Regions from separate parts of the Homo sapiens genome. Here region 1 is linked to region 2. Evidence: promoter capture Hi-C in human tissues and cell types (Jung and others, 2019). All regions are on one chromosome and are shown on one strand. Each heading gives the region's core, a stretch centred on a gene start or on the middle of the fragment in contact. The rest is flanking DNA. Distances are from core to core; before and after follow the strand shown. Region 1 overlaps ZNF445 (zinc finger protein 445). Region 2 holds the start of ZNF852 (zinc finger protein 852).

Region 1 (6,209 bases), core at 769-3,268, 41 kb before region 2:
ATTCTTCATGGAACAGAGTTCTATCAAAACCAACTTAAAAAGCCTAAGTGAAAAATAATTATTCTTGCTGCACTTTATGCAAATAATCAGGCCAAGCACAGTAAGGCTAAAGTTTATTTTGTAAACAAATCAGTCCTATCATGATTTGTTTTTAATAAAAATGGGGATTGGAGAGAGAAAATTATGCTTCAAAAGAAAAACTATAGTACAATATTGTAGCTGTTCTTGAGGGTTTTTTTCTGCAGTTTAAACAAAATTCTAAATTCTTTGTGGGTTAGAAGTCCCCAAACTAATACTTTCAAATCTTTGCTTTTAAAATTGGGAATTGTACTCCTCATCCTAGGACTCATTATTTACCTTATAGTAGGCTGTTTCACTTAAATACTGCAGTAAAATTACAGATGAAAATACTAATGTTCTAGCCATGCAAGCCATGAACGCCTGGCCAAGCCTGCGTGAGTACACTCAGACAGTTGCAAAGCAGTTCCACTCTTCTCACGCTGGGGTTCACTCCCATTCCCACTATGTCCCCTGTCAGGAGGAAGAAGCCAGAGCAATCAACAGCCTTTTCCCACCTTCATAACTTACACCTTATTAAGGTGTTATAAAATCCAAAGGGAGGGACTGAAACTGTCATTGCAAAATTATGACTGAGACAGTGAAAGAGATCTAACTTAACTAACTCCATCTTGCTTCTAACCTCCAAGCTGTCCTTGTTCATTCCTGGGCACAGGCTGAACTAACTTTGGGAGAAACTTACAGTTTATAGTTTAAATAAAGACAGTAACAGATCTTTCCCAAAGCAGATCTCCTTCTTGCCTGGAGACTAGATTGCCTTTGCGGGACTAACATTAGCCACAAGATTAGAAATTATGGTTTAGGAGTCATGCAGCTGGAGGTTACAAGATTCTGACCCTCCCTAAACTGCTCCTAAGATCAGTGCTTGAGGTATTTTGCAGCCCCTGCACTTGATGGATTAGCTGGCACAACCCAGATCAATAAACTGGCTCATCTGATCTTGTGGCCCGCCCCCACCCCTCCACCCCCTCCCCCCGAGGAGCTGACTCAGCACAAGACGACAGCTGTGACTCGCTATGATTTCATCTCTGACCAATCAGCACTCCTGGCTCACTGGCTTCCCCCAACCCACCAAGTTATCCTTAAAAACTTTGCTCCGCAAATGCTGGGGGAGACTGCTTTGAGTAATAATAAAACCCCAGTCTCCCACACAGCCGGCTCTGCGTGAATTACTCTTTCTCTATTGCAATTCCCATCTTGAATCAGCTCTGTCTAGGCAGCAGGCAAGGTGAACCTCTTGGGAGGTTATAAAAGTGTAGCATTTGGCCAGGTGCAGTGACTCATGCCTGTAATTCCAGTATTTTGGGAGGATAGTGAGAGTCTGTCTCAAAAAAAAAAAAAAAAAGCATTTTATAGGATGAAATACTCACACACCTAAAAGGAATGTACTAGAATTGTTATACATCAACATAACTGCTTTACTGTACACCAGGTGATAAGGCTCTGTAGCCAAAGTTACAAGGCAACTAGGTGTCACCCAAGGAAGAGACAGTGTATGACTTGAGGTCACTGAGAAAAGACACCACCCCCACCAAGCTCAAGAGGTACAATGTTTACTTATGGAGATGGAGGGTTCACAAGATCCAGCCACTTGCAATGTGTTGGTCCCTCGTGGCCAGCAGAACCACTCCACAGTCTACACAGGTGGTGTGTGTATACACGCTTCATATTGCAGTAGAAAGACCTTAACCCCTCCTCTGTGGGGTCTGAAATGAAGAAAGATAGGAACATGCATGACGGCTGCTGATTCATGCACTCAGAAACAGAACAAAGGAGGCCTGGCATGGTGGCTTGCACCTGTAATCCCAGCACTTTGGGAGGCTAAGGCTGGCACATTACCTGAGGTCAGGAGTTTGAGAACAGCCTGGCAAACATGGCGAAACCCCATCTCTATTAAAAATACAAAAATTAGCCAGGCGTGGAGACGTACAGCTGTAATCCCAGCTACTCAGGAGGCTGAGGCAGGAGAACCACTTGAACCCAGGAGGCAGAGGTTGCAGTGAGCCAAGATCGTGCCACTGCACTCCAGCCTGGGTGACAAAGCAAAACTCCATCTCAAAAACAAAAACAAAAACAAAACAAAACAAAACAAACAAAACAAAGGAGTACATCAAGTGCAGAAAAACAAGATAGTCCCTCACAAGATGTGACACCTACAGTCACAAGATGTTAAACCCAGCAAAGGTTGTGAGGACTCTTTCGCTCTTGTAAGGAAATGTCTCAGGCCCGAGGCCACTCTTTTTTCTCACTCTGTCATCCAGGCTGGAGTGCAGTAGCACGATCACAGCTCACTGCAGCCTCAAACTCCTGGGTTCAAGTGATCCTCCCACCTCAACCTCCTGAATAGCTGAGACTACAGACATGTGCCACCCTCACTCTGCCTGACTTTTTTTTAGCGATAGGGTCTCACTATGTTGCCCAGGCCAGTCTCAAACTCCTGGCTTCAAGAGAGCCTCCTGACTTGGCCTCCCAAAGCACTGGGATTACAGGCATGAGCCACAATGCCTGGCGTCCAAGGACACTCCTACACAGCCAAGTAAGGAGAGAGAAACTGTGCACGACTGCTTTTCCCAACAATAACAAAAATATGTGCTAAGTTTGAAAGCACATCCTAAATACGAATTGTGAAAACAAAACGTACAACCGTGTGTGTGTGTGACTGTATACGCATGTATGTGAATGTACCTATAACTACTCAAAGAAATTTTAAAAGCCTGGAAGGATTCACAAAAACTCTTACTGGTGGTGGGGGTAGGAAGGTAGAGAATTGCATTTAAAAGCAACTTTATATTTTTTTTGTCTTCTATTTCCTAAAAGAAAAGAAAATTGAAAAGCAATTATTAGAAAGCATAGTTATACTGTCATTTATGTCTTAAAGCAAATGAAAAGCAAAGCAGTTTACATATGCACATAAAAGCTCCTAAGCCTCACTACCAAAGTATTTTTAGCCATGATTTCCTCTGGGAGGTGGGATGAAAGGGCTCTCCTTCCTTATTTGCCTATGTTGCCTAAATTGTTACCCATTACATTTATAAACAGCAAAGTGATCAATAATTCTCTTAAGAAGCAAAGCAATTGAGTAGCAACTCGTAGGATTGAAGATGGCAGATGCACAGTAGAAGGGACAGCACATTCTTGAGGGGGGACTTGAGTACAAACCATGGCTTCAGCTCAAGCAACTACAAAAGGATGTTCTCCAGTTGAACAGATGTAAGGAGAAAAAAAAACAGGCAAGTGAGGTAGAGAACAAGAAGAGCAAAATGCTACCAAAACACAACATGCAAAACAAAAATAAAAAACCTATCCAGAAAGAAAACAGAAACAAAGAAAAGGAGTAGCCAGCAACAATGGAAGAAAAAAAATAAAAGTTGAAGAAAAAGAGAAATACAAGCAGTGCTGCCATTAATGTTCCACAGACACAGGATCAGCTGACTCTGTACAGATCACCTGCATCCAGAATTTCTCTAATATGACTCTTGGTTCAGTCTAGAGAGCAATCTCATCAGTATCTTCTTGTCCCTAAAAGCTTCTTTATCTAGAAGTAAAAGTACCCAGACATTATTGGTGGAAAAGATCCATCAGTAACAGCCATCAATCTACTCCAGGATCCAAATATGCCCATAAATAGCCACTGAACTGACAAACTAAAGACTCATGAGAGAAGAACTGGAGTGTCTACAAAAAGTGTGAGATGGACAACAGGTCTCAGAACTTGTTGCAAAGTGGCCCCACTACCCTGTGCACAAAGTCACAGATGAAGGTCATATCCCCTGAAAATGCTGACCCCTTCCATCTCCCACCACTGTGAAGCAAATGTAAAAGGAGTGACACTTATGAAATTAAAAGAGCCACCACCTTCTACATTTGCTCTGAACTAATACCTATCCAATGTCCTCTGCTCTCAGCAAGTGCTGCTAATACTGTCAAAAGAAATGACAGTAAACTAAGATGTAAAGAAGACTCACACTAGAAGGCATGCAATCATCCAGGGATAAAAAAGAAACTACAGCCCTACTCTATGGGCCAAGAAGAGGCAAGAAAAGAGCTACATTAGGGATCACACATGCTGAGGAAGCTGCTACAGTTCTGGCAGAGAACTGAAGCCTTGCTGTGAAAAAGGGGAGTGGAGTAAGAATAAGTATTCAAAGGAAAAAAAAAAGGGAAAATGAAAGAAGAAATAAAGTAAATAAATGAAGGCCTATAAAAGGAGACTCGAAGACTGAGAAGCAGTGGGAGCTTCAGGACCAAGAGGAGCAGGCTCCAGCCTCGGTGCGTGCCAGCAGCACAAAAGGGAAGGAGAAACACCTGATCAGGAGAAAGCTGAAAAACAGAAAAAGAAGAGAGACTTTCATGGCCAAACTTGCAGAACAGACAGAAGAGAAAGAAAACCAAAGTATGAAAAGAACCAAAATGCTGCTAAAGATGAAGATAAATCTGGCAATTAAGTTAAAGAGAAAGAAATTGAGGCCAGAGAGAAACACTTTTAAGAAATGTACCCAGTGAAAAATATAAATGGCACTGACCAATCTCAGGAAATTGACACCTACAGTCAAATTAGCTCCAAAAATAAGTCTCCAAGCAGGACTGTTCTGAAGCAGCTGCTGCACAAATGTCCAAAAGGGTCAGTGACTTTTTTTTCCCCCCTACAACAGCTAACTTCCAGATTTTTGGAGGAGGACGGGGGAACAAGGGTTTCACTATATTGCCCATGCTGGTCTTGAACTCCTGGGCTCACACAATTCTTCTGCCTCAGCCTTCTGAGTAGCTGGGATTACAGGCGCATGCCACCTTGCCTGGCAGTAATGTATTTGTAAAGAGGTGATGAGAAGACTGACAGAAAATTCAGGGCGAATGCCTGTGAATATAGTGAGGATTCCAGTCCTTGAGTCAAAGAAAGGTTAGCTCAGCCTCTGCAATCATGAACATGAATAAAGACCTCACGGGCCTCTCAAACTCTGAATGAAAGACCCAGAGCATAGTGAACATACAGCTACCTCAGCAGACAGCTGAGCCCGCCAATGAAATTCAGGTATCTTAATGCCACAGGCTTCTCCCAAGTCCCAACTAGCTTTTAAGCATAGAAGAAAAGCTTCATTTATCTTCTTGCTGAGATTATATCACAATTACACTCAGAACTGGGAAGGAACATGAGCTGGATCTTATTCTCAGGACTCTCCCCCCAGAGCTTTATACCTTAACCCAGTTTCATTCCCACAAAGAAAATGGCTTTGAAAAGAACAGGGAAACTTCCAACCAAGATCTTGATATTTTTCAAGGAGATTTTCTTCTGTTACATTGTTTCTTCACCTCATGGCCAATGTAATTTCTTTGTTTTCCTTTTAATGTCCCCATGAGCTAGTCTCTTATTTTTGTGTTTTCCTACCAGTGTAAGTGTATAGAAGGTATATAAACTGATATTAAGCAAACAGGTTTCCAAGATAATCACCACTTAAGAAAAAATGCAGGCCGGGCGCAGTGGCTCACACCTGTAATCCCAGCACTTTGGGAGGCTGAGGCGAGATCATCTGAGGTTGGGAGTTCGAGACCAGCCTGACCAACATGGAGAAACCCCGTCTCTACTAAAAATACAAAAATTAGCCGGCATGGTGCTGCATGCCTGTAATCCCAGCTACTCGGGAGGCTGAGGCAGGAGAATCGCTTGAACCCAGGAGGCGGAGGTTGCAGTGAGCCGAGATCATGCCACTGCACTCCAGCCTGGGCAACGAGAGTGAAACTCCACTTCACACACACACACACACACACACACACACACACACACAAAAAATGCTTTCAGTATATATTTAAAGCCTTAAAATAATATTTATATTCATTTACCAATTAAGAAATAAACTAATAATGGGAGTGCCCAAAATTTGATTTCTAAATACTATACTATTCTCCAATTAAAACAAACAACAACAACAACAAACAGGGATCCTTGGAGAAGTGACTGATGCCAGGCTGGGGAGGGAAAAATATAAGGGTTTTGGGTGCCAGAAAACAAAAACTAAGGAAGGACTAAAAAAAAAAAAAAAAATCGGGGCAAACAGACACAGCTCCCAATAGTCAAAGAGCTACAATAATTTCAGCAATAAAATAACAACAGTACTGCATTCTAGTGCAAAGAATAA
Region 2 (6,477 bases), core at 1,701-4,200:
AAACAGGCTGCAGGGCAGAAGGCTGTAAAACTGGCTGACTGCTCAAGTTGATTAAATTCCTATGATCCCTGGAGGCCCTCTCTGTCTACTTATAGCAGCAAGACCTTCTTTTAAAAAGAGCCCCAGAACCTGTAAAATTAACCTGTGCCAGCAGCTGTGCTTGCTTAGAGAGAAAAAGGCTAAATATCAGTAACCACAAAGGAGAACTTAGCTCAGCAGTGCTACCCAGGCCTGAATCCTTGCTTCATTACCATATTAAAATCTCCACCTAGAAGGGAGAAATACACTTGCTAGGCACATATAGTGCTGGGTACAAAAGAAACAATGAGACTGGCCAGGCGCGGTGGCTCACGTCTGTAATCCCAGCACTTTGGGAGGCCAAGGCGGGTGGATCACCTGAGGTCAGGAGTTCAAGACCCTCCTGACCAACATGGAGAAACCCCGTCTCTATTAAAAATACTAAATTAGCCAGGCATGTGGTACATGCCTGTAATCCCAGCTATTTGGGGGGCTGAGACAGGAGAACTGCTTGAACCTGGGAGGCGGAGGTTGCGGTGAGCCAAGATCAAGCCATTGCACTCCAGCCTGGGCAACAAGAGCAAAACTCCATCGCAAAAGAAAAAAAAAGAAAGAAAGAAAGAAAAAAGAATGAGACTGAGCACACTCCAGTTCTTCCCATAGGGCCCCACCTCTTTCCAGGATCTCTGCCCCACTACATGCCCTAAGAGACCTTAAAAATCCCTCTTCACCACACCCAGAGGAGGGTACTTTGAGCATGAGCTTTTCCTTCTCCATTCCTTCATCAACAAATAAAGTTTCTGCACTGCTTAACGAAACTTGGTCTCATTTTATTGGCATGAACACCACCAGGCAGGTAAAGGACCCACTGAAGTCAAACGACTTCCCTTGAGAGTTGGTAACAGTAGCATTACAAGTCAGTGGGAAAAATTAAACTAGTCAATGAATTGTGTTGGGACAATTGGCTAGGCAAATAAAAATAGTAAGTAAAATCACACAAAAAATAAAGAAACTTAAAAAACAAAGCTAAAAGGCTGGGTGCGGTGGCTCACGCCTGTAATCCCAGCTCTTTGGGAGGCCAAGGTGGGTGGATCACAAGGTCAGGAGTTCAAGACCAACCTAACCAAGATGGTGAAATCCCATCTCTACTTTAAAAAAAAAAAAAGCCAGATGTGGTGGCAGGCGCCTGTAATCTCAGATACTCGGGAGGCTGAGGCAGAGAATTGCTTGAACCCAGGAGGCAGAGGCTGCAGTGATCCAAGATTGTGCCACTGCACTCCAGCCTGGGTGACACAGAGTGAGACTCTGTCTCAAAAAAAAAAAAGAAAAAAACCATAAAGACTCTAAGAACCCTGGTGTAACCAAGAATTTCTTAAGACAACAAAATGAAAAGAGTGAATATATTTGAATACATCAATATGAAAAAAATCTCTGTCCAAAAGAAAAGCAAAAGAAAAAAACACCAAACACAAACCACTAATAGATGTGGAAATGTAATAGCCAACAGGAAGGATAGTTTGAAAGTCCACAGTAAAACTAAAAAGACATATTCCTTACGCTACAGGAATTTAACTTGTAAGAATCTGCCCTGAAAAACACTTGCACGGGTATTCAGACATTTACACAGGTATTTACTAAAATATTCTCTGTAATAACATAATACTGGATTTAACCTACTTGTCCATCAATATGGCTAAATAAAAGTAGCATTTTTATAGGATGAAATACCATACAGCACCTAAAAGGAACATACTAGATCCTTATGCATCACCATGACTGTTCCACTATTCACCAGGTGGCCAGGCTGTGCTGCCAAGATTAAAAGGCCATCCAAGGAAGGGATAGCACATGATTTGAGGTCGCTGAGGACAGATACCAACCACATCAGGCCCCAAGAGGTACAGCGTATACTTACAGCAAAAGGAGAAACAGGGAACAAGATCCAGCCTCCTGCAATGCAAAGAGCCCCCACACCCAGCAGATCCACTCCACAGCTATAGGGCTGGTGTGATGCACACACCCCACTTAGTAAGGAAGAAAGATCTCAATCCACCCTCCCCACTCCTATGGGGTGTGAAATACAGAAGGCTGAGAGAATGAATGAAGGCCACTGACTTAAGAGATTAAACACAACAAAGGAGTACACATGAAGCCTGAAACACTGAAAGACACAAGGCATTAAATGCAGCAGCACAGGCTGTGAGGGCTCTAACTCTGCAAGGAAATGTTCCAGGCTCAAGGTCACTCTTACATTCTTAACTTGGCAATGGGCTATTTAAAAAAAAAAAAAAGACATTAAAAACTGTCAATTCTTCTTGTCTCCCAGTTTAGATATTCCTTCTTTCATTAATTTAACAAACACCTTCTAGGAGCACCTACTATTTCCCATACACTAAGGTAACAGCAGTTAATAAAGCAAACAGAAAGCACTGCCCTGGCAAGGGGCTTATGGGAAGATAACCAATAAACAAATACATGCTATGTTAGACGGCGACAGGTGCCAGGAAGTGAAATAAGACAAGAAAAAGGGAGAAGTCTATGCCAGATGTTTTCAATGTCAGGAGACCTGGAGACTAAGATTTCCGGACGGTGGCTACTTTCACTTTTCTTCCACTTATCTAATTGTCTCTAATAAGTACGCTTTATTCGCATAATTGGGTGAAAAGATAAAGCCAGAAGAAACCGGGAATTTTCCAGATTCTCTGCCCCAGACGCCCGGGGGGCGAAGAGGTATGCCCTCGGCGCGGCCGGGCGGGATCCACGGCCAGACCCCCGCCCCGGGTGCAGCCTCCAGGCCCGGCCTCACCTGCCACTCTCGCACGCACAGCCGCCCCCGCTCCGCACCCCGCGCCCCGCCGGGCCGCTCACCGACTCCGCCGCCGAGAGACAATCATCCAAACGCCGCCACCGCAGCCGACCGCCCCGCGCCTACCTCCCAGCTTCCCCAGTTGCGCACGCGCGTCGCCTCCCCGGGCCCTCTGCGGCCTCTCTAGGAAACTGGGAGGGCCAACATCTCTGCTTCTCCCTGGGCCCAGGGCCGCTGGCGGCGGGCGGCGGGCGGCGGGCGGCGGGCGGCGGGCGGCGGGCGGCGGGGCTTGTCCAGCATCCTTCGCCTCCTTCCGCGGACACTTGTCTTCCACGCTCTGATGCCCAGGCGCGCTCCAGAACTCTATCGGCTTTGGCGTATTATCCTACATCCCTCCCATCGGTTCTGCACGGCTGCCCTGGAGGCCTCTTTTCCTTCAGGGAAGAAAGGGATCCAAAGCTAGCGGTGAAAATAGAGCCAGCGGCCTGGCGCGGTGGCTCACGCCTGTAATCCCAGAACTTTGGGAAGCCGAGGTGGGCGGATCACGAGGTCAGGAGATCGGTGGCTAACACGGTGAAACCCCGTGTCTACTAAAAATAAAAAAAAAGTAGCTGGGTGTGGTGGCGCGGCGCCTGTAATCGCAGCTACTTCGGCGGCTGAGGCAGGAGAATCGTTTGAACCTGGGAGGCGGAGGTTGCAGTGAGCCGAGATCGTGCCACTGCACTCCAGCCTGGGAGACAGAGCCAGACTCCGTCTCAAAAAACAAACAAACAAAAAAATAGGGCCAGCACATCCCCAAACATAAAACCCTTGAATGGAGAAATTCCCAAACAAGGCAATAAGCCCAGCACTGGCCGTGAGAGTTTATTATCCCCTTTTAAGTAAATGCTACAAGCCCTAGGCGCACTTTTGCAACTGTTCAAGGGTCATCAGGCTGCACATGACTGACCAAGACACTCAGTTGCCCACTTTGGATGGAGCTACAGCTTTGTGGGAAAAACAGATAATAGAAATTACACAAATACATCAATGTCAAGTGGTTACGAACACTGTTGAAATGTAACAGAGTTATTTAATTGACAGCGACTGATGATAATGCTTGTATTTTTTCTGGTACTTTTCTGTATACTTCCGGTAGCTCATAACACACTGGCTGCCATGCATTGATTTGAGTTGCCCAAGGAAATAGAGTCAGTAACTGGAATAGCCACTGAATCCAAATCTTTTGGTCTTTTCACTACTGTGCTTCATAAAAGCTCTCCCGTCCCACGTCCCTGTAGAGGGAGAGTTGGGGATAGCATGGCTCCTAGCTGAGATCCCAGAAGCTAGGGGTAGAAGGTTGTGGGCAGGATAGTGAGGAGGGCAAGATTCCAAGGAAAACTAAAATCCCTGCCCAGGAACGGTTACCACCTGGGAAAGCAGGAATGACCCAACGCATCAAGGCCCAGAGTGTACTCAAAGAACAACAGGTTAGGATGAGGGTCAAAACTCAGACCAGAAAGAGCATTAGCTGAGCTTGGTGGTGCACGCCTGTAGTCCTAGCTACTGTGGAGGCAGAGGCGGAAGGATCGCTTGGGCCGGGGAGGTCGAGGCTGCAGTGAGCTATGATTGGGGCAGTGTACTCCAGCTTGGGCGACAGAGCGAGACCCAAGGAAGGAAGGGAGGAAGGGAGGGAGGGAAGTGAGAAAGAGAGAAAAGGAATGAAAGAGAGAAGGAAGAAAGAGAGAGAACGAGAAAGAGCAGGCTGCTTCTTGGGCTACAACCTGGAGAGGCTGTGTAACATTATGAGTTGGAGAAGCAGGTACAAAATAGTAAAAACTTCTATAAAGTAGACTAACAGCATGTGGCAGAACAGTGGGTTTTTAAAGGTGGGAACAAGAGAACCAAACAATAGCAAAAATAGATTGATTAACATCAGGTTACTTTTCTTTTAAGGATTAAAGCAGAGGGGGCCTTCCTTATGCTGACTGGGGTTAACTGGGCCCTTTCTGAATGGTTGCTATGAATCTCCTGTTTGCAGGAAAAACTGGTCTGTTAGGGGATTCACATACTTCTATAAAATTTCAGTTTGATTATGTGGCATTTAGCATTAGGAATTCCTTCATTTATTTATTTATTTATTTTGAGACGGAGCCTCCCTCTGTCACCCAGGCTGGAGGGCAGTGGTGTGATCTCGGCTCACTGCAACCTCCGCCTCCCCTCCTGGGTTCAAGTGATTCTCCTGCCTCAGCCACCCAGTAATTGGGACCACAGACACAGGCCACCATCCCCAGCTAATTTTTGCATTTTTAGTAGAGCCAGGATTTGTCATGTCTGCCAGGCTGATCTCGAACTCCTGACCTCAGGTGATCTGCCCACCTCGGCCTCCCACAAGTGCTAGGATTACAGGTGTGAGCCACAGCGCCCAGCCTTATTTATAATTATTTATTTATTTATTTATTTTGAGATGGAGTCTCACTCTGTCACCCAGGCTGTAGTGCAGTGGCGCGATCTTGGCTCACTGCAGCCTCCGCCTCCCGGGTTCAAGCGATTCTCCTGCCTCAGCCTCCTGAGTAGCAGGGATTACAGGCATGTGCCACCATGCCTGGCTAATTTTTGTATTTTTAGTAGAGATGGGGTTTCACCATCTTGACCAGGCTTGTGTTGAACTCCTGACCTCAGGTGATCCGCCTGCCTCTGCCTCCCGAAGTGCTGGGATTACAAGATGAGCCACTGTGCCCGGCTTATTTATTTATTTTTGAGACAAAGTCTGGCTCTATCGCCCAGGCAGGAGTGCAGTGAGTGGTAGGATCTCAGCTCACTGCAACCTCCACCTGCTGGGCTCAGGCCATCATCCCACCTCAGCCTCCTGAGTAGCTGGGACTACAGGCGCACACCACCACACCCGGATAAGTTTTTTTTTTTTTTTTTTGGTAGAGATGGGGTTTTGCCATGTTGCCCAGGCTGGTCTTGAACTCTTGACCTCAGGTGATCCACCTGCCTAGGACTCCCAAAGTGCTGGGATTACAGGAGTGAGCCATGGCGCCCAGCCACTGGTTGTTAATCTTTTAAATATCATCCCTGAGAAGAAAAGAGACCTAGGTAACAGAACTGAAACAGTTCTGTCTGTGAACTGGAAGGAAGTCGTTGAGGAGGTCAATTTCTTTCCCTTCCTGCAGCCCCTCCTCATAGGTAGAAGGAGACAAGGTGGAAAAACAGCTCCTTTAGCCCCTCCCCCAATCACCCAATTAACCCTTTAGTTGCTGGACCATATGAACGATTCAGGATTGGCCTTGCTGTCAGAAAGATGAGGTGGATTGACAAGGTGGGGACAGCTGGTGTCAGAGGGCCATGGGGTTAAGGGCCTCTTTTATTCTCAACAAGCCTATGTCATTGTTCTCTGAGTGGGTTGGAGATGAATGGGTTGCTTGCTAAAAGGAGAGCTGGATGTGTCCTGTGCTTATGATCTCCCACATGGCCTGGCTCTGGTTACCTTAATGTCAAGACCAGCAGAAAATAGTTTGTCTTGTATGGCCTGGCCGCTAGGATGTTAGTGGAGGAAGTGGGTGCAGAGAAGCAGGGAGATACAGAAACCATAGTTGTTCTGTTGGGGTGTTAGAGTGTAACAAGTTGGATGCAGACTTATAAAAGGCAAGATGAAAGCACTAGGGGAG

What was found. The method cuts DNA at HindIII sites, captures the fragments that hold promoters and counts their contacts. A contact is called where the count stands out against the background at its distance.
Region 1: a contact is called between a fragment that was not itself captured here and the fragment with the promoter of ZNF852 in region 2, in 1 of the 25 tissues and cell types used here (pancreas).

The regions. Positions count from the first base shown.
Region 1 is chr3:44,467,634-44,473,842 of GRCh38, forward strand. The region is part of intron 1 of ZNF445 (zinc finger protein 445); the gene reads right to left. Among named protein-coding and RNA genes, the nearest start is that of ZNF445, 6.9 kb to the right of the region's middle. The HindIII fragment of the contact is 4,733 bases long and covers 1-4,385 here.
Region 2 is chr3:44,507,667-44,514,143 of GRCh38, forward strand. It overlaps ZNF852 (zinc finger protein 852), which reads right to left and starts at 2,951. Exons shown (of 4, transcript NM_001423469.1): 1 at 2,887-2,951. RefSeq lists enhancers at 2,334-3,110, 3,111-3,887, 3,346-3,405 and silencers at 2,716-2,875, 2,886-2,945, 3,076-3,125. The HindIII fragment of the contact is 21,843 bases long and covers 1-6,477 here.